Linked DNA regions of Homo sapiens: region 1 is linked to region 2. The links are contacts of gene promoters, found by promoter capture Hi-C in human tissues and cell types (Jung and others, 2019). All regions are on one chromosome and are shown on one strand. The core of a region is centred on a gene start or on the middle of the fragment in contact, and the rest is flanking DNA. Distances in the headings are between cores, read along the strand shown. Region 1 has its middle 32 kb from the start of PIP. Region 2 holds the start of OR6V1 (olfactory receptor family 6 subfamily V member 1).

The links. The method cuts DNA at HindIII sites, captures the fragments that hold promoters and counts their contacts. A contact is called where the count stands out against the background at its distance.
Region 1: a fragment that was not itself captured here is called in contact with the fragment with the promoter of OR6V1 in region 2 in 1 of the 25 tissues and cell types used here (neural progenitor cells).

What each region holds. Positions count from the first base shown.
Region 1 is chr7:143,097,134-143,103,853 of GRCh38, reverse strand. No RefSeq gene overlaps it. Among named protein-coding and RNA genes, the nearest start is that of PIP, 32 kb to the left of the region's middle. The HindIII fragment of the contact is 4,523 bases long and covers 2,350-6,720 here.
Region 2 is chr7:143,050,799-143,057,646 of GRCh38, reverse strand. It overlaps OR6V1 (olfactory receptor family 6 subfamily V member 1), which reads right to left and starts at 5,306. Exons shown (of 1, transcript NM_001001667.1): 1 at 4,365-5,306. The coding sequence starts at 5,306. The coding sequence ends at 4,365. The HindIII fragment of the contact is 14,465 bases long and covers 1-6,848 here.

The sequences.
Region 1 (6,720 bases), core at 3,362-5,861, 47 kb before region 2:
GACTCTGGAAAATAAAACATGAAGAATTAGCAATGATTATTTGATTTTGAGAATGTTTTTTGAAGATGCTAAAAGGTTCAAAACATTTGATTAAAACAGAATCATAGATTATTGTAAAATAATAGTTCCTTATTTAACCAAAGTGATAAAAAAAACTTTGAAGTCAATACAGAAGGTTATATGAATGTAAAAACTTTAACCCCCTTTAAGCATAATTTTCCTAAGTAATTAAAAATCTAATGAAGATAACATAGAAAATATCTTGAAAAAAAATTGTCTATGTCCTAATCTCTGGAGACTGTATGTAACCTTACATGGCAAAAAGGGCTCTCCAGATGTCATTAAGTTAAGAAGACTATCCAGGGTTATCTGGGTGGGCCTAATGCAATACTAAAACTTCCTATAAAGGAAAGAGGCAGGCAGGAGTGTCAAGGGGAGAGAAGATGTGATGACAGATGCAGAGTTCAGAATGATGCAAAGGAGCTGTAAGCCAAGGAATGCAGGTGGCCTCTAGACTCTGGAAAGGCATTGGAATCCATTCTCTCCTAGAGCCTCCAGAAGGAACACAGCCCTGCCAACTCCTTGATTTAGGACTTCTGATCACCAGAACTGTAAGATAATAAATTTGTGTTGTTTATGGACACTACATTTATGGCAAATTGTTACAGCAACAATAGGAAACCAATACATACTGCATAATTTCCATCATTTGAGATATATTTAAACATTTTTTTTCAGTTTCTGTGAAGTTATTTATGTGTATGCTTGAAAAGAATGTGTATTTTTGAGTACCATGTTTTATATATACCTATTGGATTAAGGTTTAAAATTGTTTTCATTAGGTAGTGTATATGCATACTGAATTTGTAAAATAATATACAGAGAGTGGTATATTAAAATTTTTTACAATGGAAGAGTTGTAATTTCTCCTATTTCTCCTTATTTTGTAAAAGTTTATGCATTTTGAGCCTGTGTTATTAGGTGCATATAAATTCATGATTGTTATATTTGCCTGTTGTACTCACCTTTTGGCAATGAAAACATAGAATATTTTTGGCCATAAAGTCTGTTCTGTCTAATATTAATGTAGTGACACCAGCTGTATTTCGTTAGTTATTGCCTGCTGAATTCTCTTGCATGCTTTCATTTTCTACCTTTTAATACTCTTAATGGATGTGACTTTTATAAGCTGCATATAAGTGGATTTTGGAATTTTTCTACAATCTGAACATATTAGTCTTTTAATCTAAACATTTCATATATTTACATTTAACATAAAACTTGATATACAATATTTGGGTTTTAATTACTATCAAACTATATAGTATACATATTTTTCTCCCTCTTCCATATTTTTTTCCTTTTATTTTTTGCCTTCTTTAGAATTTATAACACTTTTTTATTATTCAGTTTCTTTTCTACATTAGCTTTGATGTTATACAATCTATAAATATTTTTTGTGGTTATCCTAGAAATTTTATCCTACATACAGATGTAACATGAAAGTCTAATATTAATTATATCAACTCTTTCTGAACAATACAAAGCCTTAGATAATTTTATTTTATCCTTGTCTCCAACTTTGTATGTTATTGCTGCTATGTATTTTAATTCTCCCTACATATTTTTAAATAATTTGTTGGTAAATATTTTTATTGAGGTATAACATACATAAAATACCCAGATTTTAAGTTGACCTTGATACATTTTTACAAAGGAGTAACCCTCTGAAACTACCAAGCAAATTAAAATATAGATAATTTATTGTACACTAGAAGCTCTCCTTGTGCTCTGTTATGGTCTTAATATGTCTCCCAAATTCATATTTTGAAATTTAATCACTAAAGTGATAGTATTAAGAGGTAGGGCCTTTGGGAGGTGATTACATCATAAGGTTGAAATCCTCATAAATAGTATTAATGCCCTTATAAAAGAGGCTTCAGAAAACTGCCTAACATTTTTCCTTTTCTCTCTGTCATGTGAGCATGTAGCATTCACTCCTTTTACCCTTTCACTCTTCTGCCATGTGAGAACACAGCAACAAGATACCATCTTGGAAGCAGAGAGTAAGCCTTCACCAGCCACGGAATATGCTACTGCCTTGGCCTTGGGCTTCCCAGGCTCCAGAGCTGTGAGAAATAAATTTCTATTGTTTATAAATTACCAAGTATCTGGTATTTTCTAAGAGCAGGAAGAATAGACTAAGATGACCTCTTTGTGTCAATACCCCATAAGGTTAAGCGGTGATTCTAATTTCTCTCATCAAAGACTATTATTTTCTTTTATTGAACTTCATATAAATAGAATCATAATATACCTACTTCCTGGTTTCTAGCTTCTTTCTGTGAACATTATTTTTATGGGATTTACCTAGGCTGTTGCACTTAGCAGTAACTAAATATTTTTCACTGATGTTTAGTACTATATTATCTAAATGTACCATTCTTTATTTTAGCATTATAGTTTTTGCTATTTTGAATAAACCTGTTAAGATTTTTTTGTACATGTCTTTTGGTACAAATATCCGCTAATTTAATTTGGGTCTGTACAGTCAGTTCTCCTATAATGTGCCATATATGTTCCTAAAAATCACTGCAATATGCAAAATTGTACAATAAAAACTGAGTTATGAGAAAAATGGGATTAATGGTATAACACTCAAGTACATTGTCAGTGATAAATAAAGAGGTAAACAAAAGGAATAGTACACTATTACACATATTTGATAGTTAAAACATACATAAATACTACAATAATTATGAGAGTTTATATTGAAGAATACATGAAATTTCCTTGTGGAAATAGGTGTCAGGAGGTAGCAGCATGTGGGATACTGTGAAGTAGTAGAAGGAGAGTTATCAGACATCAGACAGAAGGCTATAACACCAGGTGTGGATGGGCAGGATTCATTGTCTTTGGCTGGATTTGTTGACTCTTGATCTTTTGCAATTCTTAAATACTTGGGCATTTTTTTCTTGCCTTTGGGTTGTAGGTACTTTGAGATTTTTAATGCGTGTCTGTTTTTTCAAAATTGCCATTTTTGAACCAATGTGTAGCTATCTTCTTCAATTAATTTTAATATCACTGCTGAAAATTCTTTTGTGGCTTTCTCATTTGAACTTATGGTGTCATCTGATGGCCGAAGGCTTTGGAGATTGTAGTGATGTTTGAAACCACTGAATTAGCCATTAATAACACTGAAGGGAGCCATTTCTACAGGATTGGGTAATTTCTGTTTAAAGTCTTCACATACAAATAGTATGCCCTTTTTTTCCATTTTCCCTGCTGGTGTTTTGAACCAGGACACTTAAACATGTTTGGGATATTGAAAGAGTGTTTGCTTATATACAGTAGTTTTCAAATGTAACAAGACAATAAACAAACCCTTGAGATCAATACACTCAGTGTACCGAGATAGCTTTTAGATGTTTGAGGTATATGAGTGTGTTTTGTGTATTCTTATGTGAATTGGTTTAACTTGGTACAGTTTCTATTTCACTTTGTGCTTCTTGCTGCTGAAACTGCCTGTAAGAAAATATGAAATTCTCATTATGCTCAAATTTTCTCTCAATAAATTGATTGCACTGAAAAATATTTGACTTTTCAAAAAAGTATTATACTTTTCAAAAGAAGATAGACATGTGACCAAGTAGCATATGAAGAAAAGCTCAGTATCACTGATCATTAGAGAATGCAAATCATCTCACACCAGTCAGAATGGCTATTATTAAAAGGTCAAAAAATAACAGATGCTAGTGATGCTGTGGTGAAAAGGAATGCTTGTATACTGTTGATATGAGTGTAAATTAGTTCCACCATTGTGGAAAGCAGTGTGGTGACTCCTCAAAGAGCTAAAAACAGAACTACCATTCAACCCAGCAATCTCATTCCTTTGGGTATATACCCAAACGAATAGAAATCATTTTACCATAAACACATATGCAGGTGAATGTTCACTGTGGCACTGTTCACTATAGCAAAGACATAGAATCAAGCTAAATGCCCATCAATGACAGATTGGATAAAGAAAATGTGGTACTTATACACCATGGAGTACTATGCAGCCATAAAAAAGAACAAGATCATGTCTTATGAGAACACAGATGAAGTTGAAGTCCATTGTCCTTAGCAGACCAACACAGGAACAGAAAACCAAACATCCCATATTCTCAGCCTTTTTTTTTTTTTTGACAGAGTTTTGCTCTTGTTGCCCAGGCTGGAGTGCAATGGCATGATCTTGGTTCACTGCAACCTCTGCCTCCCAGTTTCAAGTGATTCTCCTGCCTCAGCCTCCCGAGTAGCTGGGAGCTACCACCATGCCCAGCTAATTTTTGTATTTTTAGTAGAGATGGTGTTTCACCATGTTGGCCAGGCTGGTCTCGAACTCCTGACCTCAGGTGATCCACCCACCTCAGCCTTCCAAAGTGTTGGGATTACAGGTGTGAGTCACCATGCTGGCATATTCTCATTTATAAGTGGGAGCTAAATAATGAAACTCATGACACAAAGAGGGGAACAACAGACACTGAGGCCTACTTAAGGGCGAAGGGTGGGAGAAGGGAGAGGATTAGAAAAAATAACTATTGAGTACTAGGCTTAGTATAGGAGTCCCTATACTGCTGTCAGAAAATTTCTCAGCAAAAGTTTTACAGTCCAGGAGAGAGTAGGATGATGTATTCAAAATGGTAAAAGCAAAAAAAAAAGGACTGCCAACCAAAAATACTTTACCTAGCAAAGCTTTCTTTCAGACATGAGGGAGAAATAAAAACTTTTCCTGACAAATAAAAGCTAAGGGATTTTATTACCACTAGGCCTGTCTTACAGGAATTGCTAAAGGGAGTTCTTTAAGCTGAAACTAAAGGCTGCTAAGGAATGACATAAGATGTATAAAAGTACAAAACTTGATGATACATTAATATATAGTGATACTCAGAATACTCTAATACTATAAATGTGGTGAATTCAGAAATTTTATCTGTAGTATTATGGTTAAAAAACAAAATTATTAAAAACAACTGCAGGTACAATAAATTGTTAGGGGATAAAAATTACAAAAAGATGTTAATTTTGTCATCAATGTCATAAAAGGTGGGAGGGGCTGTAAATGTAGAGTTTTTGTATGTGATTAAAGTTAAGTTGTTATTAGCTTAAAATAGCTTGTTATTAAGTATACAATGTTTTACATAAGCCTCAAGGTAGCCACAAAGCAAAACTCTATAGTAGTTACACAAAATATAAAAAGAAAGAATTCAAAGCATATCACTACAGAAAACCATCAAACCATAGTGAAAGACAGCAAGTGAGAAAAAGGCAAAATATCCACAAAATACCCAGAAAACAAATTACAAAATGGGAGTAGAAAGTTCTTACCTATCAATTACTATATTAAATGTAAATAGATTAAATTCTCAAATTAAAAGACATAAATGTGGCTGAATGGCTTAAAACAAACAGAAAAAGATCTTAGTATAGACTACTTATAAATGACTCTCTTTATTAGTAAGGACACAAAGAGAGTAAAATTCAAGGGATGGAAGAAGATATTTTACACAAACGGAAACCAAAAAAGACCAGGGAGAGCTATGCTCATATCAAGAAAATAGTCCTTAAGTCAAAAACCTTAAAAAGGAGACAAAGAAGGTCATATATAATAATAAAGGGATAAATTCATAAAGAGGACATAACAACTGTAAATACATATAAACCCCAAATTGGAGCATGTAATGTATTATGAAACTATTAAGTAATCTAAAGGGAGAAATGTACACTAATACCATAATATTAGGGAAACACAATGCCCCACTTTCAAGAACAGACAAATCATTTAAACAGAAAATCAATAGGGAAACATTGGACTTGAATTACACATTTGACCAAATAAACCAGACAAACAGAACATTGTATCCAAGTGTAACAGAATTCACAGTTGTCTCAAGTGGACATGGGACATTCTCTAAGATAGATCATATGTTAGGCCAAAAACAAACCAACAAACAAAAAACAAGTCTTAACAGATTTAAGAAAATTGAAATCATATCAAGTATCTTCTCCAATTACAATGGCATAAAACTAGAAATCAATAACAGGAGAGATCTTGGAAAATTCTACAAAGTGTGGAAATTAAATAAAATGCCTTGAAATAATCAAGAGGTCACAGAAGAAATTAAGAGGGAGATTAATAATCTTACAAACAAAAATGGAAATACAATATACCAAAACTTATGGGATGCAGCAAAGCAGTTCTGAGAGGGAAGTTAATAGCAAACCCTATAGAGAAAGACATTTGGGACAGGCCATCCAAGAGGCAGAGATAGCTTTATGTTCCTCCATGAATTGCAAAGAAATATGCTCCACCTCCTTTTTTTACAATGAGATAGAAGCCACAAGTGTGATCTTGAGCATGGAGTTCGATGGGGGAGATGGAGAAGTAGAGCCTAGTGGACTGTGAAATTAAAGCTATGCACCCAGTTTACAACACAGCTGTTGAGGAAGGATGAGACAGAGTTTCTGTTCTTGGGTAAGGCTGTAGGGCAGGGGGTTATCTGAACAGCTCTGCACACACACACAATCACATGTACAGTTTTGCACACACAGTCACACACACAGATAGAGAATTAGACCACTTTGTGGGGGGTGGGGGGAAGGGGGGCTTCCTATACCTCATGTACACTGTGCTTTCCATGTTCATATGGTTATGTCTATGTATCACAAAATCCCTGA
Region 2 (6,848 bases), core at 4,057-6,556:
AAAAGGAAAGAAGGTACAGCTCAGTTCATTGCTTCAGAGGGTGCAAACCCCAAGCATTGGCAGCTTCCACGTGATGTGGCAGAAGACAAGAGTTGAGCTTTGGGAACCTCTGCCTAGATTTCAGAGGACGTATGGAAATGTCTGGAAATCGACCGTTAAATTGGCAGGAATTAAATACAGGCATGATAAAAAAAATTAGATAACAGAAACTCAAAATCAAATAAGTTATGCTAAAAACAAAGGTGATTCATATTCAAAACTCCTAATTACTTTGCTATATTTTACTTTTGTCCATGAGATTGAGGTTATTTAGGCCACCTGTCTCAGTGTGGTGGAAATACTATATGGGGCTGCATGGTGGGGCATCTTTCCGTAACTCCAACTTCAGATGTCATCTCGGTAGCTTAAAACTGGACATGGTGAAAATATTGACACCAGGAAGTTGGCAAATGCTAGAAGTCAGCAAATGGAGAGAGGTGGCTAAACATTTACTATCAGACCACTGAGCCACGACCACCATTCCTCAGTACCCGTCAGGCATTGTTGAAAAAACATATGTACATCAGAAAACCTAGTGCTGAAAGAATTAGTGAATTAGATTGATATGAATCTAGTCCACTGTAGGCAACACTGACATTTTCTTAGTTTGACCCAGAGGGTTTTACACCTCACCACTCCTAAAATCCCATCTGTGCAGGGTCTTGATGTTGCTACCAACCACCGCAAGACCCAGGCCTGACTTTCCTTTGAAAAGTGATTATATGCCTTTGTCTTCCTTCTTCAAAAACTTTCATACCTTCAATTTCTTGCTCTCTAATCCTCCCAACTGGAAGAAATAAATCCATTTTTTTGGCTTCCCACTGGGATATACATGTGTGAGAATGGATTCTTGGGTTAGCCATTTAGAACTAGGATGCCAGACAAATGAAGGGTGTGTGGGAGGATATTTGGGGCCAGGGAAAACATTTTAGTTTCACGAAATCCTGTCATGATTTCGCCCACACTTAAATTAGTTCTGGGTATTGAAAGCAACCTTGCCCTCCTACCACCCTGAAATTAGGTTCCAGTGTAAGCCACTTCTATGAAGTGGAAAGGCTGTTGCCATCTGTGCATCTACATCCAACAACCTTACATAGACAAACAACCACATCAACTGTTCTCACCTCCCAGGGAAAATGATGTCATAGCAAAGGGACTGTGAATCCACTGTATAATTAACATTGTATATGAACAGAATCAAAATATTTATTCAAAATAAAAATATCTTACATGTGTAGGTATTATTTGCTCTATTTCAAATGTTTGTGGAAACAGTGGTGATAAATAAAATACAAATCTTTTTTTCCTTCTTTCCAACTTTTATTCTGGGTTCAAGGGGTACATGTGCAAGTTTGTTACCTGGGTAAATTGCATGTTGCTGAGGTTTGGTGTACAGATAGCTTTGTCACCCAAGTAATCAGCATAATACCTGATAGTTTTTCAATCCTCACCCTCCTCCCTCCCTCCATCCTAAAGTAGGTTCCAGTGTCTATTATACCCTTCTTTGTGTCCATGTATACTCAATATTTAGCTCCCATTTATAAGAGAAGATGTGGTATTTGGTTTTTTGTTTCTGTCTTAATTTGCTTAGGAAAATGGCTTCCAGCTCCATCTGAGTTGCTGCAAAGGACATGCCCTCACTCTTTTTTATGGCTGCATAGTATTCCATAGTGTATATGTACCACATTTTCTTTATCCAGTCCACCATTGATGGGCATCTAGGTTGCTTCTATGCCTTTGATATTGAAACACAAATCTTTAAAAGTAACATTGAATCTATACTTGCTTTCTGCCAATATGTGTTTCTTTCAAGTGATGGATACTAAATGTGCAATTACTGTGAGGAAGGGGTTACTAGAATTGTTGCCATTACAAATCTACAAACTTGTAGAATCTTGATAGATATGTGCTCAGTAAGGGTCTAGAGGAGGCAAAACTGAGCAGCTTCAGATCCTGGAGGTTCCAACTTTGAATTAACCCAACTTTTAATTCAGATGGAAGAAGAAAATTCCAAAGATGGGGAGATGGAAAAAAAGGTTTGAAGAACCAGATCCTGCTGTCGGTTCTGCAATTTCTTTGACCAACTCATTCTTCCTCTCAGCCATGTTTCCCTTACCCGCTAAAGCGGGTCGGGAACACCGCTTGCTGCAGTTTCAGAATCAGAAATTTTCCTTCCGAGCTCTCATACTCTATAGGAAAACACCTTATTGAAATTAACCACACTTTTAAATTTCTCTCAGTACATGGAACCCCTTGAGGTCAGACTCCTCATTTCTTTCATCTTTAACAGCCACTGCTGAGTGGAGTGTTTTGCTCATGATGGGTGATCAGTGAATATTTATTTAACTGAATTACTATGAGGGTAAAACCAAATGGAAAATATATGTAAAAGTGGTTCATAAAGTATGAAAAGTATACAAAAGTAAGATATTGTTAGTAGAATTATTCTTAATTTACTCATCCTTCTTTCATTTACTCTACAAATACTTTTCTAGGTAGCAAGCAGAGAATAAACAGAGGAAAAAAACATCAATTCATTCAATAGCAACTGCAAACAACAGAATCATTGCTCTGTTATGTAATTAAAGAACAAGCAAAATTTTGGTCCAGAAACTGAAACTGGGAATGTGAAAAGACCCTCCGACTTGGCTAAGGGGTATCTCAGCAAGAAAGAAAGACACTTTCAGAAAGCCAGAGAAAGGGATGCCTCGTTTAGGAAGGAGTTAGCTTGGGGTAAGAGGAGGTCACAAGGAGAACCAATGGGTTGGTAAGCAAGCTGCATCTCTCAAGCTCCAAATGAGCTTACCTCATTCATTTCCACATAGTGGATTTTTTAAATGCTTGACATTTGTGATAAATTAGTAGTTTTATTGTTTTCAAGTAAGTGTAGCTACGAATAAACTCCTGGTTGTAGTTTATATATCACAAATTGGGATATGGAGTTTGGTAAATTAAAGTGTACTTACAGAAACAGTGTGTCAAAACAACTTAAATTGGGGCTACTTTAGAAAATTCTGCATGGGCAAAAGCTAAGGGAACACCATGATCCTGAGGTCAAAGTAACTGGAAGATTTTAAAAATTTCAGGCTATAGTTGGAGGAGGGAGGACAGTGGAGCTGATGTTTAACTCCAAAGGCAGCATGGGACATAATAGATTTTCAAGAATTTTATACCCACACGTATGTGAATGTAATATAATGTTCATATTTTATGTAATGTACAATATAATATGTATGTGTGTAAAATAGGATATATAATCACTGAATAAGTGAACTTACTAGGTTTATTACAATCCCTTGCCTTTAGGCAAATGAATGTTTCTAATCATACAGGAGCAAAGTTTATTTTGTCTTTCTAAAACTCTGAATATTTCCTCTCTGGAAACCACATAATTCCTCACTAGCGGAGATTTATCTTGTTTTAATTTCTCTCTGTTTCATCTTTCTCTGATGCAAAGGTACCTGATGAATTGCACTCTCACAGTGTCCACCTTATAGTCAATGTGCTACTCAGGTGTCATCTTGTCAGGAAGCCGTCGCTGAGCCTCCTCCTGGTCTCAGTGTTGCTCCCCTGTGTGCTCATAATACCGTCTGTGAATCCACTGTTGCACGTTCCCCACTGTGCTGGAAACAGCTATTTATCACTTTTTCCTTCCTTAGGCCAAGAGCTTTGTCAGGTTAAGAACCATTTATGCCTTTTTTACCTTTCTACCCTCTACCTGTTACAGTGCCTGACACACACAGCCTACTCAATGTTGAAGAAATGAATGAATAAATGGATGAATAATTATACAAGGACCCAGTCCTCCTCCCAACACTCACACACACATTGAAAAACAATCAGTTTGTTTTTGGTAAGTTTTGCTTCTTCTCTTGATCCCATGTAGCCCAAGCACTTATGGTGCATACACTCAGCAGCAGTGCATACTGTGATAGAGAAGCACACCCGGAACATGCACACGCATACACACATATGTACACACATACACACCCATGCACACATACTGGGATTGGACACTACCTCTTGATCATAGAGCACTTCTTGGCTGCTCTTCCTTAAATGCAAAGCACATGCACTTCCCTTTACTGAAAGCTCTGGGCTACTCTCAGAGTTCTTACGGCTGCCAGGGGATGTAGGGAACTCTTCCATGGTGGTCCATAAGAGCTTTGGGCCAGACAGTGCAGCACTCAGGGCTCACTGTAGTTATTGCTCAGAGGGAAAAAAACTAAAGAAACTCAGCAGTGTTCTTCCCACTTGCTGGAGGTCTCCCTCCCCACAGAACTGCTCAATGGAGGCAGGCCAGGTTCCCCTGGGCCCTGGGCTCATCATTGTGCCTTGCAAAGGCCTTTCAGCCTCTGCATCTGCCCCTGTAGCACTGTTTTAACTGTCTGATTGCAGAAGGTAAGGATAAAGGGATTGAGAAAGGGGGTGAGAACTGAAGTCACCAAGGCCACGACCTTCCTGACTTGCACAGAGTGAGCTTTGCCAGGCCTGACATACAGAAAGATGGTACTACTGTAGCCGATGAAGACCAGTGTGAGGTGAGACCCGCAAGTGGAGAAAGCCTTCTGGCAGCTGCTGGCAGAGGGGATCCGCAGCACAGTGGTCACTATGTAGCCATAGGAGATGAGGGTCACCAGGAAGGAGCTGAGGACAAAGGTCAAGGCCATCAGAAAGTCCCAGAATTCCAACAGGCGAGTGTCAGAGCATGACAACTGCAGGAGAGGTTCATTGTCACAGAAGAAGTGGTTGATGACGTCGCCATGGCAGTAATCAAGATGAGCTCGGGAGAGGACAGTGGGTACCATGGCTAGGAAAGGAGCTGCCCAGGCAGCCCCAGCCAGCTGGACACACATAGCCCGGCTCATCAGAGTGCCATAGCGCAGTGGGTGGCAGATGGCCACAAAGCGATCAAGGGCCATGTCTGTCAGGATGAGGAAGGAGGTGGACCCCAGGGAAAAGTGGAAGTAGAACTGGACCATGCAGCCAGTGAAGGTAATGACTTTGTGGGGGACCAACAGGTCTGAGAGCATCCTGGGCACTGCAGTCATGGTTACCAAGATCTCCAGCAGGGAAAAATTGCCCAGGAAGAAGTACATGGGTGTATGTAGGTGGGTGTCAGCTATGACCATAACTATGATGATGGTGTTTCCCATGAAGGCGAGAAGATAAAGCATGAGGAAGGGGCCATACAGAAGGGCCTGCAGCTCACCAAAGGAGGAGAAGCCCAAGAGGACAAATTCGGAGGGCTGGCTCAGATTTGCCATGATCCACAGTATGGGGCCCTGCATGCAAGAGAAACAAAAGACAGACGGAGAGGCAGAAACAGAGAGATAGAGACAGAGAACCATTGAACTTGAAACAGAAGAAACAGGGACAGAGACAGAGAATAGAGAGAGAAAGGCAAGTAGCCAGCGAGTGATAAACAGAAAAGCAGAAAGAAACGGCAATAAAGAAAGATAACAAAACAGGAATGGGAGAGTCAAGGAGAAACAGAGTGAGGGTATGAGAGAAGTGAAAGACATAGAAAGCCATTATTAAGAAGAGAGAAGGCTGGGGATGGTGGTTCATGCCTGTAATCCCAGCACTTTGGGAGGCCGAGGCAGGGGGAACACTTGAGGTCAGGAGTTCAAGACCAGCCTGGCCAACATGGTGAAACCCTGTCTCTACTAAAAATACAAAAATAAGCCAGGTGCAGGCAACTGTAATCTCAGCTACCTGCAAAACTGAGGCATGAGAATCGCTTGAACCTGGGAGGTGGAGGTTGCAGTGAGCCGAAATCGTGCCACTGCACTCCAGCCTGGGTGACAGAGTGAGACTCCATCTCAAAAAAGAAAAAAAAAAAGGGGGGGAAGAAAGAAAAACAGAGGAAAAGATTAAGGAAGACCACATGGCAACAGACATTGACATTTAGGGAGAAAACAAGAAGGAAACAACAGAGGACCAGAGAAAGAACAGAAAAAATTCAAATAGAGAAATACAGGAAGGGGAGGAACACAGAAAAAGAGAGGGAGAGAGAGCATTAGTGCATGTGACCCAGAAGCCCCCAAATGTAGGCTAATCCGTCTATGTCACACCCAGAGGTTGTGCCCCAAGACCCTTTTTAAAGGGTCCCTGCAAACCTTTCTGAGCTGCCTCTCTGAGGACCCTCGCTTGTGCACATTTCTCCGGCTATGATCATGAAATTAGTGAAAGTCAGAGTTTTGAGTCCAGAAATTAACTTCCTTTAGAGGAGACCTCTGCTTCGTGTTTGCAAAGATGGAGAGCAGAAAGGGTGCAGCAGGTCAGGGAGCGAGCCTGGAAATCCAAGTGGCTGCTCTCCCAGGACACACACAGTCATCAGGCTTCCCAACGGCATAATCTGTCTACCCAAGGGTGCTGCTTTGCCGTCTCCATTGCACTTCCCCTCCCGCCGTGGTGCAAAGTGTAAGCTATGGAGTTGGCTTGCCTGTGTTTGAATTCTGGCTCTAGACTTGCTTGTCACGGGCCGTAAATCTGCTCTTCTTTGTTACTTACTCTCTCTGAGCCCGTTTATTCAGCTGTAAAATAATGGTATTACTGGTACTTAGCCTCTATGGTGATTATAAAATTAAATAAGTAAACTACTTAGTGCAGTGACTAGCACATACTAGCCAACAAATCGTTGTTGTTATTGTTATCACTGTTCTTATTGTTAGACCGTCAATAGAACTCAAATTTTTTTTGCCCATCATCTCTCTACACTTCTTCTCATTGCCAGCATGTGTGTGTGTGAAGATCTTTACAGCTTTACACTGTTTCTTGGAATTTCAGTTCACTAAAAGGGTACT